2 separate regions of the Homo sapiens genome follow, and region 1 is linked to region 2. Evidence: promoter capture Hi-C in human tissues and cell types (Jung and others, 2019). All regions are on one chromosome and are shown on one strand. Each heading gives the region's core, a stretch centred on a gene start or on the middle of the fragment in contact. The rest is flanking DNA. Distances are from core to core; before and after follow the strand shown.

The links. The method cuts DNA at HindIII sites, captures the fragments that hold promoters and counts their contacts. A contact is called where the count stands out against the background at its distance.
Region 1: a contact is called between the fragment with the promoter of DEFB103A here and the fragment with the promoter of DEFB4B in region 2, in 6 of the 25 tissues and cell types used here (H1 embryonic stem cells, dorsolateral prefrontal cortex, hippocampus and 3 more).

The regions. Positions count from the first base shown.
Region 1 is chr8:7,880,065-7,883,029 of GRCh38, forward strand. DEFB103A (defensin beta 103A) reads left to right here and starts at 1,328. Exons shown (of 2, transcript NM_001081551.4): 1 at 1,328-1,415; 2 at 2,359-2,599. The coding sequence starts at 1,358. The coding sequence ends at 2,504. It also overlaps the pseudogene LOC124901865. The HindIII fragment of the contact is 16,891 bases long and covers 1-2,965 here.
Region 2 is chr8:7,415,473-7,418,173 of GRCh38, forward strand. It overlaps DEFB4B (defensin beta 4B), which reads right to left and starts at 1,391. Exons shown (of 2, transcript NM_001205266.2): 1 at 1,298-1,391. The coding sequence starts at 1,355. The HindIII fragment of the contact is 11,162 bases long and covers 1-2,701 here.

The DNA.
Region 1 (2,965 bases), core at 78-2,577, 460 kb after region 2:
GTTATAATTGCATTCACACGAAGCAGCAGCTAGGAGACATCACGGTGACTTCAGCTCCCAATTGAATTGTCATTGACTTACTTAGTTCCCAATTGATAGTCAACCAAATACAACCCATCCATTGGATTCCTGAACATTTAAGTTTAATAGCTGTTTTTTTTTTCTTTTTTAGCATTTTTCCCTCTAAACGTTGAATCTATATGCAGGGGAAATCATCTGGCCCCTGGACTGCCTTGAATGCTCCTGAGCCAAGAGTAACTTGAGGTCTTAAATGTCTATTCTGAAGCCCCTCTTTTGCACAGGGACAGTCATTGACTAGGAGGAGATGCCAGTCTATTAAATCTATCATCCCAGCATCCTCTTTCTCTGATGAAGTAAAATTAAACACCTTCTTTACTCATAAATTTGGTAGGTTTTAGACAATGATGAAGAATCGGACATGGGCCGCACACAGTGGCTCATACCAGTAATCCCAGCAATTTAGGAGGCTGAAGCAGGAGGATTGCTTGAGCCCAGGAGTTCACATCTGGGCTCGAAACCAGTCTGGGCAGCATAGTGAGACCCCATTTTATTTTCTACAGAAAATTTAAAATTTAGCCATGTGTGGAGGCATGCGTTTGTGGTCCCAGCTACTCAGGGGGCTGAAGTGGGAGGACCTCTTGAGCCTGACAGCTCAAGCTGTTGTGAGCTGTAATCATGCCACTGCACTCCAGCCTGCACAAAAAAGTGAGACTCTGTCTCTCAAAAAAAAAAAAAAAAAATGAAAGAATGAGACATGTTTCACTCAAATTATAGCACCCCATCATAGGCCAAGGGCCAGGTGGTCAGCTAACCTTGAATGTAGCCCATTTTCCTCCCTTACCTCACTACCAAAAAGCCAGTCCTATTGCCAGATATTGAATATGTCCAGGGCTGGATTTATTTGGTCCCCAGGAGGGTCTTAGACTCTCCCAGCATTTTAGGAAGAGAAAAAAAGCTCCAAAGCAGCAAAGTACGGACAAGTCAGCCCCCAGCCACATGCCCTGAGACTATTCCCCAAAGGGGGCATACTTGCTCATGCCAGCCCTATCTGTACCCACAACCCAATCTGACCCACACCCAGACAAGCCCCTGGAGTCCAGAGAGCACCCGGACAGCCACAAATCCATAGGGAGCTCTGCCTTACCATTGGGTTCCTAATTAACTGAGTGAGTGGGTGTGTTCTGCATGGTGAGAGGCATTGGAATGATGCATCAGAAAACATGTCATAATGTCATCACTGTAATATGACAAGAATTGCAGCTGTGGCTGGAACCTTTATAAAGTGACCAAGCACACCTTTTCATCCAGTCTCAGCGTGGGGTGAAGCCTAGCAGCTATGAGGATCCATTATCTTCTGTTTGCTTTGCTCTTCCTGTTTTTGGTGCCTGTTCCAGGTAAGATGGGCTGGGAAATCTAAGGATTGATCTAATTGAGAATATATAATTCAGAGTCAGTATTTCTCCATCCTTCAGAGTGCTTTGGACCAAGCAGGTTTGTTGTATGGGAACTAGGCATCACCACTTTTTTTTCAGACAAGAATCATTAAGAGGCCAGGTGCGGTGGCTCATGCCTGTAATCTCAACACTTTGGGAGGCCGAGGTGGGCGGATCACGAGGTCAGGAGTTCAAGACCAGCCTGGCCAAGATGGTGAAACCCCATCTCTACTAAAAATACAAAAATTATCTGGGCACAGTGGCGGGCACCTGTAATCCCAGCTACTCGGGAGGCTGAGGCAGAGAATTGCTTAAACCTGGCAGGCGGAGGTTGCAGTAAGCCGAGATCACGCCACTGTCCTCCAGACTGGGTGACAGGGTGAGAGTACACCTCAAAAAAAAAAAAAAAGAAAAGAATCATTAAGAAACTAAATAGCTCCCCAAAGCTATCTCTTTCCCCAACTCTTCAAGGGAAGATTATTATACCAGCTGATGAGACATGAATCAGACATAAAAGTTTAATGTAGCAGGAAAGATTGATTTACTCTGAGAATAGAAGCACAGGCTCCTGTTCTACTAAGTGCAATGGTTGGAGGTGGAGTGTTGGGGCTACCTCTGAGGACACCACAGCCTCAGCACCCCCACTGTTCCTGCGGCAGTCACAGGGTCACGCCACTTCCCCGGTGCCACTGTGGGTCCACAGCTGAGCTGCAGCCTTAGAAACATTGTCTATGGGTTGTGTAGTCATACCTTCATCTTCCTCCTGATTTTATAGAAAAAGGAAAAAGAAACAAAAGAATACAAGAAAAGCAAGGGATGAGTTATTTGAGGAATTCCACAAGCCTTGTACGTGTACCAAAAGCCTTCCTAAAACCTTTCCGTGTGTGCTGTTTTGTCATTGCAGGTCATGGAGGAATCATAAACACATTACAGAAATATTATTGCAGAGTCAGAGGCGGCCGGTGTGCTGTGCTCAGCTGCCTTCCAAAGGAGGAACAGATCGGCAAGTGCTCGACGCGTGGCCGAAAATGCTGCCGAAGAAAGAAATAAAAACCCTGAAACATGACGAGAGTGTTGTAAAGTGTGGAAATGCCTTCTTAAAGTTTATAAAAGTAAAATCAAATTACATTTTTTTTTCAAAAAAAATTAGGAGCTTGATTTTTTTTTTTAAATCTGATTATTTTGGTACTTGTTTCCAAACAGACAACTCAGAAAATCTTAAGGACTCACCTTTCGTTCAAAGAAAGTAGAATCTCTGGAGAAATCTATAAGGGAGCCCAACCTTATTATCCAAGGGTTATCAGGTTCTATTCCTACTTTGTGAACGTTATGCCCCAGTGAAGTTGGACTCTTCACTCTCTTGGAATATGCCCTTTGCTTTCATGTCATCCAAGCCTTGGGCCTTTTCAGTCCCTCTACCCCAAATGGCATCTGTCCACCAAATCTATCTCTAAGGTTTTCATGCATCCCTCAGGGGCTATCCCAATTCCTTCCAAAAACTTTGTCTTCAG
Region 2 (2,701 bases), core at 141-2,640:
ACACAAGCCAGTAAACTTTTGCTTTTTCAAATCATTTAGTCTGTTAAGTATTTGATCTGAGATGGGATAAAAAGATGCAACTTACTGAAATTGTTTAATAGGAAATTAACACCAAGTAACTTACAGTTGAAAACCACAATTAACCATAGAAATAAATTTTGTAATGGCTTGTTTCTAATATCTAAGTCCTGGTTTCAACCTCATTCTTCTTTTTTTATCCCTCCCTCCCTCCCTCCCTCCCTCCCTCCCTCCTTCCCTCCCTCCCTCCCCACCTGCCCGCCTCCCTGCCTCCCTGCCTCCCTGCCTCCCCGCCTTCCTTCATTATACTGTTCTAGGTTTTGGAAAACATGAGGTCTCTGGTGCCTCTCAGAACCCCATTGTTCTCACAAAACCCAGGACTCATAAATAAGATTGGTAAAATGAGGATTTCACAAGATGATATCTATTAGATTAATTGTTTTAGGATTTACTCTCAAATTTTCTTTTTCCCTTTCTCCATCCTTCCCTTCCACTCTCCCTCTTTTATCCTTTCATGGTTTTTATTTTATTTTCATAATATCAAGGAGAAAATGAAGGTTAGGCATCCAGGTTTAAAAGTTGGTTTCAATGGGCTGTCCCTGTCCTGTGAACCTGCAGTGGCCTAGTGGCAGGGACTGTTCTCAGGGCCTCTGATCAGAAAAGTCCTGGGGGCAGAGTGTCTGCTGCAGTAGTTCTCACAGTATAGGCTGGGCCTTAAGATTATCTGGAATTCTCTAGGTTGCAGTATCTACCCTTTAAATATAAAAATTTAGAAAATGACATTCTATACTACTTTCTTTAGATAAAATCAAAATTTCTGCCTTTTATTTAAAAAGTCACCTAACAGGTTTCAACCATAGTCTCAGCAGTTGTAGCATGGAAAGCAGTGAAGAGATGATATTTACAAGCTACTGGGCTCCTTCATATTGGCTTAGAAGAACGAGTGAGGTGTCCATTGGGTTCTCAAACTCCTTTTCTATTGAAGGAAGCAATGCTTGGTTCAATTAAATAGGGCATTCAGTCTAAAAGTGTGGGTAGAAGAAAGGAAAGAGAAAGAAAGAAAGACATGCTCTAGGGAGAGAGGAAAAAGAAAGACAGAAAAAAAGAGAGAGAGGGAAGAAGAGAGAGAAGCAGGAGAAAAGGATGGAGGGGACACACAGAGAGAGGAAGGAGAGAGAGGGATGAGGGAGAGATAGGTGGAGGGGAATGAGAGGAGACAGAGAACTTCTACGCCATTCTTCCATTTGGCCAACCCTCCTATTTCCCTGGCCCATCTCACCTGGAAGAGGCATCAGAAATATGAAGAGGAACGAGAAGAGGAGATACAAGACCCTCATGGCTGATGGCTGGGAGCTTCACCAGGAGCTGAGTCTGGGGAGGACATCAAGCCTTCCACCTTATAAAGGTCCTGGTCCCTGGTCACCAGGTAGAGTTCAGAACTGGTATTGGGTGCAATGCTCATTACAGAGGTTAGAATTCAGCCACTTACCTGGTGAGTCAGAGAATGGTCCTCAAAGAACAATGCACACTCAGGAGATCTTATGCAAATCTGGACTCAGGAAACCCCAGAAAATCCCTTCCTCCTGCTCTTGGGACCAGAAAATTCCTCCTATCTTGCACCATTTAAAACCCAGTGTGTGAATGGAGTGAGGGGCTGGGTCTGTCTCACGTGAGAACAAACTCAAACTCAGGACCTATAACCTGCCACTCACCTGCTGCCCACTCTGTGCGACGTCCTGTTTTTCCTGAGTATCTGGGGACAGTCTCAGGCCAAATTGAGAGCTCTTTCCATCTAATTCTATCCATTGCTCGGACATTCAGCTCCTGGGGATGATACAGGGCTGGCTCAAACCCAGGGACCCTGGGAGGGGCTCAGGGCCTCTGGCAGCACCGGGAGCATGGTGGGCCCCATCCTCACAGGAGATCTGAGCTGGTGAAATTTATGTGAAAGTTCCCCTGAAACTCCCCATCTTCCCCACGGGAGAGAGATGAGGCAGATGGATGCCCACTTCCTTCCTCTGAGAAGGAGAATGGGAGGATGGGATTGTGACTACATGTGTCCCCTCAGAGTTCACCCAGGCCTGGGCCAGGAGGTGGCCTACCACCCGCACTTGAGTTCCTTCCATTCACACCGTCACTCAGGGAATGTCAGCTCCACAGGACTTCAGGGCTTTGGGAGCCAGGGCTTTCTCTGCTTTCCACAGACGTCAGCGTCACTGCCCTTGGGATTTGGTGGAGAAGCACCGAGTGGGGCTGCAAGGCCTCCACGTGGTCTCCCTGTTGGTGATGGGAAACACTTATGAAGGAGCCCCATGTTTTCAGGGCTGTGTGAGGTCTCTGGTGTCTCTCAGGACCCTGTCCTTCCTCCGTAACCCAGAGTAGCAATTGGCGGCCCCAGGCAATGGACAGAGCCCCATCCCGGGCACTCAGGAGAGGGCCTTTCTTGGGAAAATGAGTGGCATTCATCCTGGTTCCTCCCTCTTTCGATCTAAGGGCAGTTTGAGAAACAAGCAGGCCCCAGTGTCCATGTCTGTGATGTCTCAGGGGTGCAGCAGTGACAGAGACATGGGGACAATGAGGCTTTCCTCATGACCTGCCTGACCTCTTCATTTAAAATGTCAGGTTCTGAAGAACCCTGATTCCTGGCAGGCCAGAGGTGGATTTAAAGGAAGCTGGTAATGAT